Regions from separate parts of the Homo sapiens genome. Here all the other regions are linked to region 7. Evidence: promoter capture Hi-C in 16 types of primary human blood cells and fetal thymus (Javierre and others, 2016). All regions are on one chromosome and are shown on one strand. The core of a region is centred on a gene start or on the middle of the fragment in contact, and the rest is flanking DNA. Distances in the headings are between cores, read along the strand shown. Region 1 overlaps DNM3 (dynamin 3). Region 2 overlaps DNM3 (dynamin 3). Region 3 overlaps DNM3 (dynamin 3). Region 4 overlaps DNM3 (dynamin 3). Region 5 overlaps DNM3 (dynamin 3). Region 6 overlaps DNM3 (dynamin 3). Region 7 holds the start of PIGC (phosphatidylinositol glycan anchor biosynthesis class C).

Region 1 (2,936 bases), core at 437-2,936, 460 kb before region 7:
TTGAGATGGTCCTGAACAATTATCATCTCTTGATTCCAAGATAAAAGTATTTTCAAGAGTTTGAGAACTCATTTAAATCTAATTTGAAAATTGCATTGATTTTACACCCTTCCGGAAGGGCATGTTTCCTGCAGAGAAAGCAAGTAGGTGCCATCTAGTGGCAACAAAGGAGATCCACATTTGTGTTAACTGGAATGTATCGATTAGCAGTGATTGAAAATGTAGTTCCTGATCCAGAAGCTTATGAACTCTATGACAGAACAGTTGTGATAGCCATAAGTCTTGAAGGGTGCATTTTCCATGGAATATATGGCATTGAAAAAAACACAGTTCCATTTCTTCTAAATTATTTCTAATTTTTCCTTTTAATTTTTGCTTGTTTTCTGGGATTTGACTTCTTTTGTTCTTTTGTTTTTCGTATTGTTTTGTCCTCTACTTATCTATATACTCTTACATTCACATGGTACTGGCCTAGGCTTTGAATGGGTAATAAAATAAAGGCTCTATCTTCTGGGAATTTATATTCTAATAAAGACAGTGCCTATGAGGGTAAGTATAGAAGAACATGCCTTATCTTGATGAACTGATCTCTTCAGGCCAGATTTCTGCAGCCTGTTGAGGCTTTACTGTTGGATATACTTCCAGCATTAGAGGAATGAGCTTTCGGGAGACTTAGCTTGCTGTTTTTCAGAAAGTGGCACATTATATGGAGAAACTAAGATAGAAAGAGAAATACTCATGTCCATGCATGTTGTCAGGAAAGACAGAAATTAAATCCGTCTCTGATTCTCATTCTAACATCCAAAAAGCTAGGTCATTTCAATTCTTTGGTAAATTAAAGTAGAAACTTTTTGGTCCACTTTGGGAGCTTGTGACCTTTCCAGCCAGAGTGGCTGGGGTTGGTACTGGGAAATCTTTGCCACCAGAGGGCCTGAGTGGTGATGTGACAAAGCAAGATAAGGGTGTGAGGCCCAGGAAGGAGACAAACTTAGGGTGCTGACACTCACATTAATGCACACGGCCTTTTCACAGCTGAGTAGCACCAGAGGACAAAAGTTGGACTAGTGGAATATGACAAGAAAGCAGGTTTCATACCAAACATAAATATTTTCCAATCAGAGCTTTTTCCAATGAGATCAAAGTTTCTGTTACCCAATAGTGGATGGGTCCGAGCAGAGACTGGATGACAACCTGCCAGATTTGTTGAACCTATGAAGGTTCTCTGATTCTCTGGAAGACCTCTTTCTCCCTGCACATGTAAAAATCCTCCCTACTGTTCAGTATTCAGTCCATACCCCACTTCCTTTTTTGGGTACCACAGCTTAAAATCATCTTTTCTATCTCTACCTTTCTTATCATTTTAAGAGCAGGTTAGCATTTACATTATGCTACCTGCATTAATGTTTTTTCTCAGTGGTCTAATCCTTAGCTTTTTGAGTTAATGCTAACCTGCTTGAAGACACGGACCACATCTGAGCTAAGTGACAAATGATTCTGTATTGTTATCTTTTAGCATTGAAGGTGTATGTAAGACTCTTTTATCCTTTCCACACAGTGTTAAATCTAACCCTTGTTGATCTACCTGCAGTAACTAAAGTGCCCGTGGGAGATCAGCCACAATAGCTCTCTTGCTATTGACCTTGCCATTTCATCTTCAAGAGTGAATATTAAATGTTTATGATGGGTAATGGTAGTAAAGCTACCAATAATTGCCACATCTGGCTTTTTTTTTTTTTTTGAGATGGGGTCTCACTTTCTTGCCCAGGCTGGAGTGCAGTGGCATGATCACAGCTCACTGCAGCCTCGACCTCACAGGCTCTTATCTGGCATTTGGGTCCAAGATGCTTAGGCATAGTCTAAGTTTAGTTGTACAATTCTTCATTGAGATATTAGATAAACTAAAATCTTTGTGGAGATTTGTTTCTTTGTTAGATTTATACTCATTTAAAAAATCTAATAGTACTGTACTAGCTTTTCTTTTAAATTGTGGTGTTTTTTACATACCTGATTTCTCTCAAAGTAGGTACAGAAATTGATAATACACCAGCTTGTAGGATGTTACTGAAAATTTAAAAACCCAGTTTTGTTATTTATGTAGTTATTTTAGTGTTTTTCCCTCTGCTGAGGGATTTTTTTAAAATTTTACATTACAGGTAAATATTTGCTTTGATATAATACTCTATAACTTTTTTCCTTGAGAAATTGTCTTTGTATAAGTTGATGTGGTATTTTCAATAGTGTGTTTTTAAGCTAAAGGATTCCATATATTATTTATTTTTAACAAATTAAATGATTTCCCTTAACTTATTTTGCCTTCTGAAGATATATTTATATAACTTGGCATTCCATCCTGATGAAATGGTGATACTGAAGAGGGGAATGCTAACAGAACTCAGAGGTATCCCAGATCTAATGTCTTTAACAATCAGGTGCTGTTGTTTGCTTTATCATTTGGATAGCCAAAATTTTCTTTAAATTATTTAATAGGCTAGATGGTTTAGGGACTGGTTTTAGTATTTAATTGCTTATCTGAAAATTGGCAAATTTAGCATCTATAGCATTTGTACTATGTTTAATATTTCTAAAGTATTAATTGTGATTCTTAGTAACTACTGTGTTCTGTGGGATGTTCATGAAGGAAGAAGAGAGAATATTGGATACTTTGACTTATAATTAAAGAAACTTTTATAATTATGGCAAAAATGCATGAATTTAAGTTGTGTCATTTTGGTTTTATTTTTGTAGAATATGCCGAGTTTCTACATTGCAAAGGAAAGAAATTTACAGATTTTGATGAAGTTCGCCTTGAGATTGAAGCAGAAACAGATCGCGTGACTGGAATGAATAAAGGCATTTCCTCCATACCCATTAATTTACGAGTCTATTCCCCACACGGTAAGTAAAATAATAAAATTCCAAATTCTTCTCCTCAAACA
Region 2 (2,920 bases), core at 134-2,633, 350 kb before region 7:
GAGGGCAGCCAGAGGGCGGTGTGGGCACATTGGATCCTGGTTACCTCTTTCACAGCCTCACCTACAAGACCTGAATAATGTAGATTTAGATTGTTCAGAGAAATGGTTAAAGAGGAAATAATTTCATCGTAATTAAGAGGATTAACCATTTAACAGAAAGCTGGAAAAATAAAAAACAAGGAAGGAAGAAGTTGAAATTAGCAAATTTTAAATTGGAAAAAAATATATACACAAAATATTTTTAGCAACCAAATACAGTATGGCCTTTCACCACCCACCCCCTGCCCACCTTCAGTTGAATGCAGTGTTTTTTCATGAGTTTGAGTGAAGGAAAGCAGCTTAAATGTATCAGAGGAGTTTATTAAAAACTTATTTTGATCAGCTGTTCTAAGTGTGGTGTTGATTTCTAACTTGTTACTGCAGCACAACATCCCATCACTTTAAACAGTTGACTGAGAGCTTTAGTCTCCCTTTTCTCTATTTTAGACCATTTCATTGATCTCCAAAACAGCTTCCATAAACTATTAAACAATCTGTAAGAATACTGAGTATTGCTGATCTTCCCAGAATAACCAAAATGAGTTGTGTTTCTTATATTGATACGTGTTTATTCATGGATCCACCAAAAGAAAGCCTTTGTCCTTTTGAGGGATAGAGTAACCTAGTGATGAAACGTGTGGGCTCTGTTGTTAAGTTGTTGGAGTCCTTTCTGGCTTTTAACCCTCTGTGCTTATGTCTAAAATGAGGGTTATAATGGCATCAACTTCATTGGGCTTTTCATCGAACAGATATTTCATGAAACCAACCATGTGCCATGTCCTTTGCAGGCCCTGGGGATATAGCAGTGAACAAAACAGACGCAAACCCCTGCTCATTAGGAGCTTACAGTCTAATGGAAAAGGGCAGACAAACACAAAAAATAAATACACCGTGTAGTGTATCGGAAGGTGAGAAATGCCAGACAGAAAAATCAAACAGGGTAAAGGGGATGATAGTCTTGGAGGAAGGGAGGGATGCGGTTATAAATAGGGTGGTCAGAGTAGTCCTAACTGAAAAGAAGGATTTGAATGAAGACTTGAAAGAGATGTTGGGAACCATGCAGATGAAAGCGGGAAGTACATCCTAGGGAGCTAGCTTGCCTGAAGGCTCTAAATGGGAGTGTATTGGGTGGGTTTGAAAAAGAGCAGATGCCAGTGTGGCTGGAACTCTTCAGGGAACAAGGTGAAGGGTAGGAGGAGATGAGTCAAAGAGGCAGTAGTGGGGGTTGCTTGAGTAGGGCCTTGTAGACCCTTGTATGGACTTTGGTTTTTACCATTAAATGGAATGGTGTTGATGCAGTACACGGTTTCGAGCAGAAGAGTTAACATAGTCCTTCTGAAAGTATCACTCTGGTGTCTGTTAAGAATAGACTTCAGGGAGACAAGTGTGGAAGCAGAGACCAGAGAATAAATGATTACAGTAATCCAGATGAGGGATGGCAGTGTCTTGGACCAAGGTGGGACCAATGGAAGTGATGAAAAGATGGTTAAATGTTAAATTTATTATAAGAAAGTAGTCGACAGCATTTTCTGATGGTCGGATATGGGTTGTGAGAGAAAGAGGAGACAAAGATTTTGGCCAAGGAACTTGAATGTATGGTATAGAATTGCCATTAGTTAAGAGGAGGAAGGAAGACTGTGGGTGGAACAGATTTTAGGGGGGATTTCAGGAGTTTAGTTTTGAAATATTAAGAATGATATGCCCATTAAATACCCAAGTGATGAGGTTAAGTTGTTAAAAACATCAATAAGTCCAGAGTTGGGACTCATACATATTTGGATCTACATGGCAGATCCAAACCAGAGATGCATTAAAGGAGTTGTCAGAATATATTGGAATTCAAAGCAGTGAGACTGGACAATATCACAAAGAGTTTGTGATGCGGAGCCATGCTACTTGGTACTACCACTTATTAGCTGAGTGATTTTGGGAAAGTCACTTAGCTTCTCTCCTCATCTATGAAACAAGAAGAATAATCGTAACTGCTTCATGGGGTTGCTGTGAGAATAAAAATGATTAATATCGATAAAGCACTTAGAACATGGCATATACTCAATAATCATTAACTTAATTTCCATTACAACTCTCCTCTGTACCTGTGAGACACTGCAAATATGTCAACTCGTATGTTATTAATGTTACAATGCAGCTTTTCTTTAAGTGGTGTTATTATATTTTTGGTTTATATGCTACTAGGAGTTATGTGCTATTAGGAGTCCCATTGAGTTGGTTTTGCTTCCAGAATTAAACTGACCTGGAATTTTGGTATTAGGTCTGTCTCCATTGATTTTTTTTTTAAAGCCTGTATAAATTTTAGTATTTGTTACTTGTTTAGGAAAAAATTATATGTGTCTCTTCAGTGCTGCTTTCCTTTGCTTTTCTCAGTGCTCAGCAGAGGAGCAGTCAGGTTCACAAGAAAACCACAGTTGGAAATCAGGTAGGAATTGCATAAGAGAATCAGTGTATGCATGTCCCAAAGAATTTGAACTAAATCGCTTGATTGACTATTTTTTTAATGCAAATTAATCACGTGCAAATTTTGCTTGAAATGCAGCTTTCATTTTGATTTGTTTTTGCTTTTAAAATTTTTGGAGTGAATTGCATTTCTTTTTGGCTATTTTGTGCAGTTAACCATATTGATTTATTTTAAATAACCTTTCTGCTACTTGCTCTGCATTTCAAATTTGACTCCTCATGTCCTATTTTGCTTGCTTACGTTACCCCTAAGTTTAATTTAACATTGAGTTTGTGAGTCAGTTGAAGGTTAAAATGTGGTGAGTAGTTGCATGAGCTTTCTGGGGTTGCTAACTAGTTCACACATTTGCACAGCTTGGTATCAGTGAAGGGACAGCTCATGAAGAACGCAGTTGTTGGATGTAAT
Region 3 (2,945 bases), core at 129-2,628, 440 kb before region 7:
TCTGCTGTCTGGTCATAGAGATGGTGGAGGTGCTGCTTAGTTGAGCAGAAGCTTCAAACATCCAGGCATTGTCAACACTCAGAATATAAAGAATATGTTTATAAACTGCAAAAATAAAAACAATTCATGGAGGAAACCTATTTTCCAGGTACTATATCTGTCTCTGCACCTGTTCTTCACCCCAATTAGATTTCCATTTTACCTTAAAATTCTTTGCTTATTTGACCAATTTAACAAATGTAATAGATGCTAATTAATTGCATTGAGCGCCCAAATGCTACTTGATATTTATTGAATCAGTTAATATGTATGAAAAAATCAGATTAAAAAATGACTTCATATGTAGCTTATAGAAGCCATGTTTTGACTTCTTCAGGAATATGTTTTTGAGCTTTTTATAATATGGTTGAGACCCATAAACTCAATTATAAAATAGAAACAAAGACTAAACCTGAAGGGTTTGGAGTCTTTGAAAAATTTGTTTTACAAGTTCTATCCAATTCATTGTTCTTTTAAATTGAGAATTTACTATGCATTGGGCTTGAACAAGACAAACGCTAAGTCATGTTATAATTCAGCTTGTTTGCAAAGAGTAGATCATTTATCTGCATGTTGAGAAATGGGCTTGCCCAAGTATAGAGGAACACTTTCATTTTAAGCTTTAAAAAAGTAAATTGAGTCTTATTTAGATTTGAAAATATGACAACAAACACATTAGCTTTATAGGCTTAAAAAAGCTTTTTATGAAAGTATATATTCTTTGATATGCTGATTTAATTGGGAAAATGATATGATTATAAAATTTACTGTGAAAAAAAGGAAGAATATTTTTAGGACTTGAATGTGAATGTGTGAGTGTAAAATTTGGATTTTTAAAAAGTAAGAACAAAAGAAAAATGTGAAGGCACAATGATAAAGTGAATGTGCTGTTAAAATAGAGCTTGTTATTATCATCAATGTAAAAGGCCTCAACGTGGATTTCTAATGCGTTCATTCCTTTTTTGCCACTGGGGGTCACTGTAAAGACGCTGCTTGAAGAAGTTAAAAATTTCCCTGATGCTCTTTGTGGAGTTTGAATGTAGAAATTTAATGTAGAAAAGAAACACTGTTCATGAAAAAGACTTAAAAAAGTAAGAAGATAATAAATATATTCTCTCTTTTTCTGAATTTAATTGCCAATTAGTAACATGAATCTTCATTTTTTTCAGAAATTCTCTTTATATTAATATATGGATGTTGCATTGCTATTCAAGGTAAAAGTGTTTAATAATGATGACTTTAGTGTTACAGAATAATTGTGCTCTTATGTCTTTCTTATTTCAAAGACATTAAAACACAATTAATAGTTTCCTATGCAATTACATCTTACTCCTGGATTCTGATGTGACCATGAGTTTCTAACATTTCCATTAATGTAATAGCTCTTTTAAAAGTTGTTATAAAAACATATTCTACAAGCCATCCCCAGAATATATAATTAAACTAGATTCATACAGTTATTTTGTTGGCAGTGTAAATAAAATATGACAATGAAAAAAAGCGAAATTCTTCTAAAGTTCTGTAAGAACTCCATTTTTCATTGCTGAGTTTTAGGATCTTCCCCTCCCTCCTCTCCTGCCCCCTCCCCTTCCTCTTTTTCCTCTATTTCTTCCCCCTCCCCTTCTTGCTCTCCAACATTTCTTGAGTGGCTGCCAGGTACCTTGAATACAAGAAAAACTATTTTTTTCCATTGAGATAAGAGTGAAGTAAGGAAGTGTACATGAGGCCTATATGTAGATATCTGGAGAGGTATTTGAATAATTTATTGCCTATTGACATAGATTTTTTCACTGTAAGTGGGGAGCAAGGCTATCAGCTGAGGAAGAACTGGGGTGGGGGTGAGGTAAGGATGATAAGAGAGAAGGGGGTTGTGTAAGACATTTGGGGAGAAATGTATTTTGACCAGCTGCTGTGGAGAAATATGGAAGGAGAAAGTGGGCAGCACTGGGGGACTCTATTGAGGCCATAGTGCATCTGCACCAAGCTTAGTGGTTGTGTAATTCCCAAAACCACTCAGCAGCTGGGAGGTTGAAGAGGCAAATACTTGGGTTGCTTTTAGATCAGGATTTTGCAGGGAGGGTTGAATGGAAGATAAAAGTGGGCAAAAGAGTTGAGGATATTGGCAAAATAATAATTGGAAAGACAGACTGTGAAATACTTGGAAGAAAGTGAAATAAAAAAGAATCTGTATGTTTTGAGGAAGATGAAATGGTTTCAGGGATGGGCTTCTGGACAAGATTGAAGAATAGCAATGTGTTCCTATAAAGAGAAGAAAGAAAAATGGGAGAATAGGAGTTTGTGGTTAAAGAGATGTATATTAGAGTTTATGATTTACAGCTGGAACAAGTCCAGGTTATAAATGTCCAGGATGTGGTCATGGGAGGAAATTGCTAAAATGGCCTGCAGTTGAAAAATTATTGAATAGAAGCAGGCAAGGAACTCAATAGCCAGCGGACTGGATACATCGTCCTCATGCACATTGCTGCTGCTTGGATAATGGCGGAACTAAGGGGAGTGAGGACTAACATGATGATGCTAAAACCTTCAAAAAATGTGTGTGTGTGTTTGTGTTGAAAATGGGTGTTGTAGACATTTGGTAGAAGACAGCAACAAGGGGGAATAGAAGCTGCTTTACCCAGACGATGTCAGGTTCCAAAGCAATGTTTTAATGTGAAGGTGGAAGATTTGGGTTTGGAGAAGCACCAAGGAGTAAGAAAAATTCTTTAATCTCTACTCTTTTCCTCTAACCCTGGGCTCTGTGGAGCATGGGAGAATATACAGTCTCTACCTGAAAGGCATAAAAAAGAGAACTCAGTTTAAATAAAGGCAAGGAAGTGAGAGCTATTGTTTAGACAAGAGTGTGAGTGTGTTGGAGTAATTTGGTGACAATAAAGATGGTTCCAGAT
Region 4 (3,167 bases), core at 199-2,698, 400 kb before region 7:
GGAAATAAACATCCAGTACAGTTGAGCATATGGGCCACTCACTCTTCTGAGAGTTATAGGCTAAAGCGGAAGGTGTGGAGAAACTATTTCTCAATAGCCCTTGAAGCTATGGCAACCTTGAGATCACCTAGGGATGAATGTGAGGAGAGACTGAGGCTGTGACATTGGGGGAGTAATAGAGCTGGAGCATTTGGGACACTAGGTGGTTGTGATGTCATAGGAGTTCAGGTCCATTTGATTATTCTACATAAAGTTTAATTGATTAACTCTCTATTTCAAGTGTTCTTTAAATACCATTTTATGACTGCAATCAAATGAACAGAAGGCATTGAAAGACAACTATATTTAAATATTTATTCTAATTAAATGTCTAAAATCTTAATGATGTGTATTTTGTATAATCACACTGTGAGTACTACATAGAGTGCAATGTTAACTCTGCCAGTAGGTGCCACTAAGAGCACCTGGAAAAGGATTCTAAGGAATAATCATAGGAAAAGAAAATGAAGAGTGCAAAGGCTTGTAACTTTGACTTGAATCTATTTCTCTTTAACAATTACAGGATGGTTCAGCAATTTGCTGTGGACTTTGAGAAGAGAATTGAAGGGTCAGGGGATCAAGTAGATACCCTGGAACTCTCAGGTGGTGCTAAAATCAATCGTATTTTTCATGAACGCTTTCCTTTTGAGATAGTAAAGGTTTGTGTCAAACGTTATTTTTTTCTTAGTTTCACTTCACTTCCATATTCTGTTTTATACAACTTAATACAATATTGTGTGAGTGGTATAGAACTAACATAGTTCTTTGAACAAAACCTCCATATTCAGGTAATGAAATTCAGGAGAGGAATATGTTCTTACTGATGATTCTGATTTTATTTAATGAGATTTAACTACATTTCAAACACAAATACTAATTGAGTTTCCTAGTTTGTTGTCTAATTAATTTAAAAATATTTCTTAAGCATGTACTATGCACCACATTTCTAGGTGCCAGTGATTAAGACAGAGAAGACCCTTGCTTGTCTAGTGGGGAAAGACAGAAAATTAACAAATAGACAAAATACGAAAGTTTCAAATGTTTTTATGTAACATGATATGAGAGAGGGGATGGGTGAGCCACTTTTAATGGAATAATCAGGCAAATTCTGTCTGAGCAGGAGACATTTAAACTGTGCCCAGAATGGCATGAAGAGGTCAACTGGGTAAAGATCTGGGGGAAAGGGGTTGTTCAAGGCAGAAGTAGCAACCTCGGGTAAGGCACTAAAGTATGACAGGTGAAGAACAGATGTGGCTGATGAAGGAGAGGGGCATGAAGTGAATTCAGAGAGGGAGGAAGTGTCCAGTTCACACAAAGCTTTCTAGGTTGAGGTAAAGTCTTTATACTTAACAATGGGAAGTTACAGGAGGGTTTTAAGCAGTAATGTGACTTGATTTGTTGATGATTTTAGAAGAATAGTATGCCTGCTGGATTGTAAAGAGCCAAGAGAGTGAGGAGAACAGTAGGCCAGACCAGGGGTGGATTCATTTTCTGTGGAGTCTGAAGCTTCTACAATTTTACAGGCCCCCTTGAAGAAGAATACAAAATTATAAACACACAGGCCCAGGGTCTTGGAAGAGGCTTGTGCAAGGGGGAAATGCTGAGAATTAAACTTCTTTAGCTTTCCAGTAAAAGTGCCCCAGCAAGAAAGGATAGAGAGATGGGTGGCTTTGGGGTTTTGGAGATAAAGTTGCTAGGGCTTCGATTGAAATGGGGGAATGGAAGAAAGGGAAGTTTTGAGATGACTTCCAAGGTTTTGGCTTTCACAGCTGAGGGAGTGGTAGTGCCCATCAGATGAGGGAAATGGAGGAAAACCTCTGTTTGTATGGAGAAGTGAATTAGGAGTTCTGTTTTGGATGTGCTAAGCGTAAAATGCCCAATAGGCAGTTGAGTAGTTTTAGGGACCATGCTACTTGTCTCAAACAGAGAGGTGAGTGCTTATGTCTTCGTGTGGGAGGCAAATGGGTAAATAGATAATTTCATTAAAAATGTGCTAAGTAAAGTGATAAACTTCAGCAAAGGGTACTATGGAAACACAGCCCACAGACATGAATCCCAGCTCAAGTGTGTAAGGGAGCCAGGCTTCTGAGCTGAGTTTGGAAGGATGAGCAGCTAGTTAAGCAGGAAGAGGTAGGCTACAGGAGGGGGTGATCCAGACAGGAGAGGAATGAGCTATGAAGCCATCAGTTATGGGTAGAGACCTAGAACAATTCGTCATTCTAGGGCATAAGCTGTGAGGGGAGGAAATGGACAGACAATGAAGCCGGAGAGGCCAAATCTCAGAGGTCAGGGTTGAACTCAATGTTCTTGGGCTATCCCTTCGAGGTCTAAGCTCTGTGACACTTTGGTCCTACTTCCAAATAGATTTATGGTACCTAGCGCTTCTGAGAAATATTTGTAATCTATCCTGTGTTGTCTTTTTAAAATATTACTAATTTTCTTTTACAAAGAGGCCTTTAACTCAAATGATTTAAGTGGCCAGGGACAAAAGACAGCCATTGTTAATTTCAGGACATCTGTACTGCTACTGCACAGCAGGTGAAACTCTCATTTATGCATTCTTCTGTGCCCTCAAATTTACCATATTCAGCAAAAGAATGAAGAATTATACATTTCAAATGAATGGCTAGATTTATGTCCAGAAGGCATCCTTATGCATAGCACTCCATATCTATAACAGAGTTAAAATCCACTGCCCCCAAGCTCCCCAAAATCCCTAGTGTTCTGTGTTGCCTTGAAATTTATATAAACAGATGTTTTGACCATCTGGGTTTAGGTTAGGAAAGACATGAGTATCCACTTATTAATAATGAAGTCAAGTTATTCTCATTCTGTAATGTTCAACAATATTATTCAAAGGAATTAAGTGTCATAACTATGGCTCATTTTGCATCTGCAGATGGAGTTCAATGAGAAAGAATTGCGAAGAGAAATAAGCTATGCAATCAAAAACATACATGGTATCAGGCAAGTGATTCACATTTTTCTTGTCATCTGTTCAAGCTACCAAAAGAAAATTAATGTTTATAAATGGCTAGGAAACTCGTCTTTTCATCATTGAATAGGGTAGAATACAGAGGTGGGAGTAAGAAACAGGAAATCCTACTTTGGGGTTTAATGGTAACTTC
Region 5 (3,186 bases), core at 687-3,186, 480 kb before region 7:
TGTAGCAAGGGTGTGGTTTTTCTTGTAGCCTTAGGAATTTAGGAAGTTGTCATGCCAGCTGAGCCCTGAACCCTAGACCTGTAGGTAACTTTTGTTTCCTTAACCTTAGGGTTTGTCTTAGTTGACAAAAGGGAATCTATTTTGGTCTCTCAGATCACAGGCCTAAGAGGTAAAAAATCAGTTCTGAGTCATTTTTTATGTCAATTCTACATATGGTGGCAGTCTCATACTTACAGATTTCCACTGGAACTAAAACACTTTTCATGAAGATGTGACTTGGTATGGTGAAGTGAGCTCTGGACCAGTGGTGAAATGACCTGACTTCTTGTATTTCTACCATTTTTTAGTTTGTGACTTTATAAAGAAATTACTTTGTTGGGGTGTAGAAAACAATTCCCCAAAATCTAGCTTGTTGACATGCTGAGTGCTTTGAAAATGAAAAGGCCTTAGAAATAGGCCTCAGAACCAAGGTTCTGACTTTCCTCTGTCTCTCTCATCCTCCTTATTTTCCCAAGAAGAAGAGGGGGAGAGATTCTGTCTGGAATTTCCTTATCTAAGAAAGTGTATTTCACAAAGAAGTGCAGTTGTTTTAAGAGCACGCTCCCTAGAAATCTCATCAAATATCCAGGAAAAATCAACCTTCAGAGAAACAGAAGGGATTGGGAATCGTCACCAAGTCACTATGCCCAGACAGACTTTTCATCTGTTCTTCTGAGTGCAATTCCAAGAAATTAACTGGGGAAATTTATTTGCATAATAAGACAACCTTTGTTCTGTGCAGTTCTGTCCACCCCTTACCTTCCCATAACTTGTTCCATCCAGCTTTCAAAGACAATCATTTACAAAATAATATATACCTTACAGGTCCTTATGTCTCTCCTCTGTGAAGAGAGATTTGAAGCCTCAATCATCTGGACCCTCTTTGAGTCTCATACTTTGTATATTGCTTCTGTGTTTATGCAAATTAAATTTTGTATGCCTTTTTCTCCTACTAAACTGCCTTTTGTCAGCTTATTTTTAGCAAACCTTCAGTGGGCACAGAGGAAGCCTTCCCTCTGCCACTACAACTTAATCTCTTTGATGATCACTTTCCATAAAATGGTTTTGAAGATTGAATGAGATAGAGCAAATGAAGATGCTTTGAATGTATACATGTGCTAAACACACGGAAAATGCTCTGTTGTGAGTTCAAAGTACTTTCTCTGCTATTGAGGCTTCTAATCAGTATGATTCTGTGATGACAGAAACTCAAAAGCTTACCTTTTTTTTTCTTCTGATACTGAAAACTTCCATCTTGTCAAAAGACAAAATTACAACAAATTTAGCTTAAAGATCTTAACTGGCTTTTATTTGTGATTCTAGAATCAGGCAACTCCTCATTTTACAAAATAGAATGAGTGTTCCCAATGAATTGAGCAGAGGTTGGTTTAATAGACAGAAATGGACCAAGAAGGCAGAAACGGAAAACCAAAAAAGGCTGGGTTGTTTCAAGGTTACTTTTCTTGCAAAGGTTAAAGCAGAGGGGACTTCATTATCATGCCAGCTAGCACTGGCTTGTTTGGAAATTTGGCTATTATCTCTCTCCTGATATCATGGAAGGTTAGAGAAATAACTTAGTGTTGGCTTGGTGGTGTGGAACTTCAGCTTGAGTGACCCCATTTTGGCTTGGTATGTGTTGGGCTTAGTGCAGGAGCTCAGTCCAAACCGATGGCCTCCTATAACGGTCTTAAGGAATTATTATAGTTGGAGCGAAAGTCCAGTCTTCTGTCCCATTTGCTTACTAAGCTATACTAAGGGAAAAAAAATGGGACTAAATTTAAATATTGTTTTTAATTTTCTGTTGGAACAAATGAGTGATTGCTATATAAAGGTGCATTTCAAGTACCAAATGCAAAATTATGCTATTGTTGTGTTCTTCAAGTGTGAACTTTAGTGGTTACAGCTGAAACTCGTAGAGATGTCTCAGATTCTGCCTTCAATTGGCTTATTTAGCTTTGATGGAAAAACACTTTATTTCTTAGAAAAGCTATAATAACTGTTATCATTATTTTAATAATGACATTTACACGAGCTTTAGCATGTACATGCTTTCTGGGCACTTGTCTAAGTGTTTTCCAAATGTGGGGAGAGAAAGGAGGTGATCCCTTTGCTCCTCATCATAAAGGTCATGGCTGACACTCCTATAAAAAAATGACAGGTTAACAAGAGAAAAGCATAATGATTTATTAATGTGTATAAGCATGGGAACCATAAAAAATAGGAAAACTCAAAGAAGGGCCACATGGTTGATGCTAAAGTACCCTCTTCACTGGGTTAAGAGAAGTAGAGGTGTAGGAGTAATTGGTTTTTAGGGGGAATGAATGAGCACAAAGAACAATGATAAATCATAGTCAGGATGAAGTTCCTGTGAGCTCTGAGGGAGGCAGTGGGAACACGAGGGGCTGAACTTCACTGTGAACAAAAGTTGTCTTATTATGCAGATAGCATCTCCCAGGTAATCTCTGGAGCTGCCCTAACAATAGATGAGAAGTCTGTCTGGACATGGTGATGACTCCTAGTCTCTTCATTGGGATTCCTAGAAACGGGGGGTCTTAAAATAATTGCATTTCTTTGATAAAGAAGCTTTCTTGGTCATATAAAGGAAATTCTAGAAAGGGTCTCTCCCAATGTGCTTCAGCAAAAAAAGATTAAAGAAACAGATAGGCAAGTGAAGGCCAGAGAGAGACCTTGGGGCTGCTTCTTTAGTTCAGCATGTCAAAACACCGTATTTTGAGGTATTGCTCTCTGGGCCCTAATAAATATATGGTCTTATCTAATCCTCACAACAATCCTAGGAGGTAGGTGACACTATCCCCATTTTACATAGAGGAAACTGAGGCACAGAGAAGTTACAGTTTACCCAGAACAGTCAGGGTTGTTTGGAGTATTAACATGAAATAATGTGTGTGACTAAAAGCTTGGTGTGTAGTACAGCAGATTCTCAGTCATTTTTAATTTACTCTAAGGGTCAAGAGTTAGTAAATATAGAAGTCCATGTGACTTTGGGGCTTTCATTGGGCAAAACCACAAGTTTTGGCGGAAACAGATAAAGATAAGCACTTATTCTTATTTGGCATAGATAGTTCCTTCCTTCTGCATCCTACTGCTATTTTCATTTTATCGATGGAATACTTTGAAGCACGAAAA
Region 6 (3,320 bases), core at 84-2,583, 370 kb before region 7:
GTGAGCTGAGATTGCGCCATTGCACTCCAGCCTGGGTGACAAGAGCAAAACTCTGTCTCAAAATAAATAAATAAATAAAATAAAAAAGAAATGAGGTTAATAATTATATCTGTCTTTTCTGATTGCTGTGAATAGTGAAAGAGGTAATTCATGAAGTTCTTAGCGCCTGACACGTGGTAGACACTATATAAAATGTTAGTCATTATCCTTTTCTTTGTCCTGTTTTCCGACTTCTTCATCTTTGAATTTTATTAAGTGCCAACTCAGCAGGAGCACAGTGCTAGATGGTATCTAGGGTTCTGCTTTCTTCCTAAGGAATTGCTCTGCTGGTTTTGAAGTGTTTCCTCAACATAACAAGGTTACTTCTGATGATAGTTTGTGAAGCCTCTCCCATCACCTTGACATCCTTCTTTAGGAGTTGATGATATTTCATTTTTGCTTCCAGAATGGCAATGAATATCTTCTGTAAAATAACATAATTTATCTCTGCTTCTTTTTTGGTAGTGTAACTTTTTGAGTATTAATACTCAGATCTGCTTTTCTTGACAGCTGGCAAACTTCCCCAGACTCTGCGAGGAAACGGAAAGGATTGTTGCTAACCACATTCGTGAGCGAGAAGGGAAGACAAAGGACCAGGTAAAGAGAGGTCTTCCCTGGTGGGCAGGGAGATTGTGGGAGGTCGAAGGTCTCTGCAAGGTTGTCTGGTAGTTCCCAACAGTCAGCCTGTCGCTTAAAGGAAAAAAAAATAGTGGAACACAACTACATTATGTTTATTTTTACTTATTTATGAATTATACACATACTATATTCATATCTTGTTTATGTTAAAAATATGAGCAAATAAAAAGACTTCATTCAGAAGAATGAGATGCAAAAGCAGTAACAGGAGTTTCATTATTTTTTTTCTCAATGCTCCATGGATCATGCATACATCCTACTTTGAAAACCACTAATCCAGAAACATACCACATTTTCTCTTTAAGACAGAGGTTCTTAACTTTTATTGGGCCCACAGATGGACTCCAGAAGATTCACAAACTCCTAAAACATTATGCAAAATGCTCAGTGTTTTCATTTTTTTCTGAGGAGAGAGTGGACCTAGATTTTCATCAGCTTATCCATACAACCTATGATTGAAAAAAAAATTGAGAACTACTCTTTTAAACATTTCTATTTTGTGAATGTATGTGGTTTGTAAGGAGTGACCCTGAAATTGTTTTCTAATCCTAGCTTTGTAATTTGGAAAGATTATTTTCAAGTGAGGATAATTCATTTAAAAAAGTAAAGGACTACGTGGAAAGAATAAAAATCTTCTTAGGTTTAAATGGATTTTTCTTAGTTACTTATAAAATATTATAACAGGAAATACAAATGGTTTTACATACCCTTGAATTCCATGACACAGCTGCACGTGTGATGTTGTGGAGAGAACACTGGACTTAGGCCATGTGCTCGCCACAAAATAACATCATGTTCTTGTGTAAATCACTTCTTTGGACTGTTGTTTTCTCATGTACAGCATTAATATATTGGTCTATATGCTCTCTGAAAGCCTGTGTAAGTTAGTATTACAGGATTTTGTGATTCTCAGATGAGTGGGAAGGAGGTGAGGGAGAAATGGGGAAAAGGAAGAAGACAAAATAAAAGAGAGAGGAAAAAACCACAGGGAGAGACACACACAGCACACAGAGTGTGCGTGGGGAAGAGGAGCAGGTGGAGGAGAAAGGAGAAAAGGAAGGACAGAGGGATGGAGACCCAGCAGATTGGGACATTCGTGAGTGATTCCAGTAACCACCTTGTCTCTGCTTGAGCTGTGGATTCATTGTCACTACTTTTTATCATTGTGTTTTGAAAGTTAATTAATCACCATTTATAGTTTTCACTTGTTTACCAACTTTCACAGTCTTGGATAGCTGCAATAGCCAAAAGAGGAGAAAACAGGCTTTGTGATTCAGTTGAGATGAACAAATCAGTATTAACTCCTGAGTCAGTGAAATCAAGCCTAGAGCCAGATATGGAGCCCTAGGGCCAGAGGTTCTCCCTAATGTCTAATGTCTTGGCCCCTCCTGGGCTGAGAAAACTTAAGTTCTTAAGAATCAGCTGTACTCCTGACCTTAAGTAAATAAGCTAACTGTTTTAATTTAGTGTTTTCATCTATAATATTCAAATGATAATAAATCCTACTTAACTCTTTAGGATCCGCTGTCAAAATAATATTGGAGAAAATATAGGATAATTATTTAAAGCATTTTAAATATTTGTAATCATATCTATGTCAGTTGCTAGCTTCTTCATATTTCAGAGTTTTTGTTTTAGTAAAATGGCATGTTCAAACTTCACCATGTTGTTAAGATTGTGGGCTCTGGGCTCAGACTACCTGAATTTGAATTTCAGCTCTGTTGTTAACATTTTGTGTAACTTGTGACAAGTTATTTGACATCTTTACACTTCAATTTTCGCATCTTAAAGTGAGACAATAGTGGTAGTTAACTCACAGACATTTTGTGAGGATGGAAAGAAGTAATCAAAATACAAGGCCAGGTGTAGTGGCTCACACCTGTAATCCCAGCACTTTTGGGAGGCTGAGGCAGGCAGATTGCTTGAGGTCAGGAGTTCGAGACCAGGCTGGGAAACATGGTGAAACCCTCTCTCTACAAAATATTAAACAATTAGCTGGGCACGGTGGCCTGCACTACCAGTAGTCCCAGCTACTCGGAGGCTGAGGTGGAAGGATCACATGAGCCTGGGAGGTTGAGGCTGCAGTGAGCTATGGTCATGCCACTGCACTCCAGCCTGGGTGACAGAGCAAGACCCTGCATATATATATATATATATATATATATATATATATCTTAGTTCTTAATTAATTTTAGTTGTTTTTGTTGTTATTCCCAAAGAGCTATGGCACATGGTAGATTCGAGGAAGAATTGCCTTTTCTGATTCCAAGGGAAATTGTTTTCAATCTGCAACTCAGTTACAGTGGTTAATTTATTCCTCAAGTAGGACATAAGGGATGGAGCAGGCATCTCCCTACTAAGTCACAGTCTCAGGTGGTGTGGTCCAACAGTTATCAAGTGCCTGTCAAAGCTGGTAGTGGTCACCTCTAATATGGACTTGTGTGGCATAGCAGAAACATGCCTGGTTTTGGTAGTGTGGACATGTCATTTTGGATGGATCTCGCATTTGAATTCTGGACTCTGCTGCCTGGGACCATGTGGTACTTTTAAAGTATCCAGTTAGACAGAGTGACCCATATCCTCAGGCCTCCGCGCCTGAACAGCTCTGGGACATTCTTGCAGTTTTATTTCTTTCTTTAAAA
Region 7 (3,317 bases), core at 597-3,096:
AAAACCCATAAGTGAAAGTAATGAAGACTAGGGCACTCTTCAGGTCAGCCCACCGGGTCTGCCCACTCTTCTTCCGCCCTTCACCTCCATCAATGAGATCAAACAAAACATACCCAATCAGTGAAGAAGCCAGACCAGTCCCTAAAAGCCAATGGGGGGCCAGAAGACCCTCATCCATATACCACCAGATAACCACAAAAACACAAACACTGCACAGCTGCTGGATCACCACACTGGACTCAAATACCACAGCCCAATATTGGTATTTCCGAGCATGGATGTTTTTCCGGAGCTCTTCCAGGAATCGCCGGTCCACATAGTTATCAGGAAAGGGCTGTCGCTCATACAAGACCTTCTGCCACTTGACCTCCTTGGTGTTAGTCACAGGTTGAGCATACATTATCCTTTCATTCAAACTCAGGCCAGTTTAATCATCGCCCTCACAGAAGTCCAGGTGGTTCTTGTTCTTTATGAAGTTTTGAAATGAGACCTCCCTGGAAATTCCATGCTGTGTTGATGTTCTACCAACCTTTCCTTGTTTTCAAAGGCAGGGGCTAGGCCTACAATAGATGAATTTGTCTCTGAGGCAGGACAACACAGCCAAGTTCCTAGAAAAAGAGAGACTGTGAACCTACGAAAGTTGTGAAAGGTCAAGAGTAGTACTGAGATAAAGTCAAATCAACTCAGTTTACTAAAAGTCTGAGAAAAATGTATGTGGTAGTCACCTTATGGGACATTAAAACTGCATTTCAGATTTGAAAATTATAATTCCTTGAATAATAATAGACATCTGTTAGCTATCGCTTATTGAGTACCTACTATGTGCTAAGTGCCTTATGTATCTTCTTTCACTTAATCCTCACCACCTTGTAAGTTAGTATTAGTCCTGCTTTGGTAAAAAAGCTGAGATTCAAGATGCTTAAGTAACTTTGCCCTAAGGTAACAGAGCAGAGCCAGGATTCAAACCAAAGTCTTATCCCAAAGCCTGTGTCTCACATTGTATCTCCCTCTAAAGCAGTTCTTAACTCAGTGGTTCACATATCCCTTAGGTATATCACATTGCATGCTTATATCTGGATTTGTGTAAATTTATAGGGATAATATCCATAGTTTTTATTGGTTCTCAAAGGCATGTTATTTGTATTTTTTAAGTTACCAATCCAAAGACAATAGTAAGCTGCACCATACAGAAAGGTATGAGCTCTATAGTTTAACCAAAATCAAAGCCTCAAAGAAACTAGACTCTTCTTCCATTAGCTGAGCTTAGCATCCTTTAAAGAGCTATCAATCTACTCAAAACAAGGAAACTCTTGAGAGGATCGAAGAAGATAATCATTCCTTTTTCACAATGAGAAAACTAAGAGTCAGAAACACCACAGCCATCCGGCAAATTTGAGAAAAAAAAAATTCATATTGCCCGACTTTATTTCTTCCATGATAGACCACAACAAATATTGCTTGGCAAGCCAGACACCGTTACCCCCTCTGCAGCAGGGATCCCAGCCCGGGAATCTTAAGGCCGCCGCCGGGGTTGGAGGGTCTGCGACGCCCAAAAGGGCAGCGCCCGCCCGCAGAGTGGGGCTGGGAGGGGACGGGGTAGGGTAGGGTGACCCCAGGGTGCGCCTTCACTCTTCTGGCACCCCATTTGGCTTTTTGGGTGGGCCTCCCACTTCCGCCGCCGCCCCTCACTCAGCCTTGGGTCTGCGGGAGGCAGCAGAGGAAAAGGAGCCCCGGAAACACTGACCGTTACACGGAACCCACCTACCCGAGAGTTCCTAGGGTTGCGCAGCTGGGGGACGGCGGCACCCAGCCTTTTTCCCGCTTCGGGGCGCCGGGGCTGCGACTGTGGCCAAGCACTTCCGGGTCCGCCGCAATCTCCTTAGCGAGGGCACCCTTCCCCGGCTGGAACCATCGCGACGTGACTGCTGCCCCCTCCTGGCTGCTCGAAGGACCTCCGGTCTCCTCTCCTGGAGACTGGCCCAAACCCGAATGCTCTGAGCCTAGGAAGGCAAATCCCCAGCAATCCCCTATTGAAAGATGGGATGTGCCATCTGAAGGACTGGGTAAGGCAAGAGAGGACAAGGAAAGAGGCTGGGCCAGTAGGTGAGAGATAATGGCCGCTTTTGTTGCGCTCCTTTATTAAGTCAGGCCCTCAGCTGGGACTTCCCGTGCATCCATGCGTTCATTCCACAGATACTGATTGAATGCCTGCATGTAACAAGCCATGCTTGGGGTGCTCATGATACAGCCGTGAATGAAACACACAAAAATTGCTGCTCTCATGAAACTCTCTTTTTTGGTGCATTGACCTTTACACTGATTATATCATCTCCCCCCTCAAAGAGGACAAATCTAAGGCTCAGATAAGTTGTATTTGTCCAAAGACAGGCACCTGGGAAGTAGATGAACAGAGATCAATATCCAGTTGTCTATAGCTTCAAAGCTTGGTTTTTTTCCTCTTTACCTCCTAAAAGAAGTGAGGACAAGATTGCTAATTAAACTGAGTTCATGGAAATATTAAAGGATATATAAACAGAAGGAAGTAATAAAGAAACAAAGGGATGTAGTAAAACACAGGATACAGTGGAAATAAAAGTCAGAAAACATGACCCATTTACTAGCTCAGTGACTCAAGGCAAATCACACTACCTGAGCTTTGATTTCTTCATCAGTAAAATGGAGATGACATTATTTGCACTTGGCTACTTTATAGGATGGTTAAAGAGTTAAATATAAAAATGGTTTGTAAAGTGTTCACTATATGGCTGCTATTAGCTGACTTTGGCCATCGTAATGATAGCAATGTTTAAGTGTGATATATTCTGTAAAATGTTCTCTATTTCCCTCTAGGCTTCTGTTCCAAAATTTGACAAGATTCCTTGGCTTAGTGAGGCCAGCCTTGTAAACAAGCCATTAGTGCTCAGCCTTCCCAGAAGGTAACCTCTCAGCCACCGAGGGCAAAAGTTTTACGAAACATCTCACAGAAGATGATTTCTTCTTAAGGGATGGGGACAATTATCAGAGGGCACATTTGATCCATTGAGAAACTCAAGTCAAGTGCTTTAAAAATAGAAATAATCCGGGTTTCTCAGAAAAAAATGATCACTGAGTATAGGCCTGGCTAGAGGAGATGAGATCTCAAAATTTTTCCCTCTCCACCACTACCACTCAACAGTATAAGATAATTTTTCCCCTAGACACTGTCTCTCAAAACACTTCCATCCTCTTTCTCACCCCACATTTTCTCCACTGCTGTAGTCTGAAATTTTCACATTTTTACCATCAAAAGTCTAGAACAGTAAGTTCCCATCTTTATA

Evidence for each region. Contacts are between HindIII fragments. The CHiCAGO score rates a contact against its expected background, and 5 or more counts as called.
Region 1: a fragment that was not itself captured here is called in contact with the fragment with the promoter of PIGC in region 7 in 9 of 17 cell types (M1 macrophages, total B cells, fetal thymus and 6 more); the score reaches 11.1 in M1 macrophages.
Region 2: a contact is called between a fragment that was not itself captured here and the fragment with the promoter of PIGC in region 7, in 11 of 17 cell types (naive CD4 T cells, non-activated CD4 T cells, naive CD8 T cells and 8 more). The highest score is 20.2, in naive CD4 T cells.
Region 3: a fragment that was not itself captured here is called in contact with the fragment with the promoter of PIGC in region 7 in 15 of 17 cell types (naive B cells, total B cells, M1 macrophages and 12 more); the score reaches 24.8 in naive B cells.
Region 4: a fragment that was not itself captured here is called in contact with the fragment with the promoter of PIGC in region 7 in 6 of 17 cell types (total B cells, naive B cells, endothelial precursors and 3 more); the score reaches 7.3 in total B cells.
Region 5: a contact is called between a fragment that was not itself captured here and the fragment with the promoter of PIGC in region 7, in 1 of 17 cell types (M1 macrophages). The highest score is 5.2, in M1 macrophages.
Region 6: a fragment that was not itself captured here is called in contact with the fragment with the promoter of PIGC in region 7 in 3 of 17 cell types (naive B cells, total B cells and non-activated CD4 T cells); the score reaches 5.3 in naive B cells.

What each region holds. Positions count from the first base shown.
Region 1 is chr1:171,984,911-171,987,846 of GRCh38, forward strand. It overlaps DNM3 (dynamin 3), which reads left to right. Exons shown (of 21, transcript NM_015569.5): 3 at 2,746-2,895. Among named protein-coding and RNA genes, the nearest start is that of DNM3-IT1, 120 kb to the left of the region's middle. The HindIII fragment of the contact is 2,897 bases long and covers 239-2,936 here.
Region 2 is chr1:172,090,400-172,093,319 of GRCh38, forward strand. DNM3 (dynamin 3) reads left to right here. Exons shown (of 21, transcript NM_015569.5): 13 at 2,425-2,476. Among named protein-coding and RNA genes, the nearest start is that of MIR3120, 47 kb to the right of the region's middle. The HindIII fragment of the contact is 3,923 bases long and covers 1-2,920 here.
Region 3 is chr1:172,001,927-172,004,871 of GRCh38, forward strand. All of the region lies in intron 4 of DNM3 (dynamin 3), which reads left to right. Among named protein-coding and RNA genes, the nearest start is that of MIR3120, 140 kb to the right of the region's middle. The HindIII fragment of the contact is 1,286 bases long and covers 736-2,021 here.
Region 4 is chr1:172,041,447-172,044,613 of GRCh38, forward strand. DNM3 (dynamin 3) reads left to right here. Exons shown (of 21, transcript NM_015569.5): 8 at 563-698; 9 at 2,939-3,006. Among named protein-coding and RNA genes, the nearest start is that of MIR3120, 96 kb to the right of the region's middle. The HindIII fragment of the contact is 189 bases long and covers 1,355-1,543 here.
Region 5 is chr1:171,966,990-171,970,175 of GRCh38, forward strand. The region is part of intron 2 of DNM3 (dynamin 3); the gene reads left to right. Among named protein-coding and RNA genes, the nearest start is that of DNM3-IT1, 100 kb to the left of the region's middle. RefSeq lists an enhancer at 1-232. The HindIII fragment of the contact is 1,367 bases long and covers 1,254-2,620 here.
Region 6 is chr1:172,068,270-172,071,589 of GRCh38, forward strand. DNM3 (dynamin 3) reads left to right here. Exons shown (of 21, transcript NM_015569.5): 11 at 550-636. Among named protein-coding and RNA genes, the nearest start is that of MIR3120, 69 kb to the right of the region's middle. The HindIII fragment of the contact is 4,034 bases long and covers 1-3,320 here.
Region 7 is chr1:172,442,223-172,445,539 of GRCh38, forward strand. It overlaps PIGC (phosphatidylinositol glycan anchor biosynthesis class C), which reads right to left and starts at 1,847. Exons shown (of 2, transcript NM_153747.2): 1 at 1,766-1,847; 2 at 1-608. The coding sequence starts at 400. C1orf105 (chromosome 1 open reading frame 105) reads left to right here. Exons shown (of 7, transcript NM_139240.4): 2 at 2,851-2,936. RefSeq lists enhancers at 1,679-2,202, 1,926-2,235. The HindIII fragment of the contact is 3,601 bases long and covers 1-2,441 here.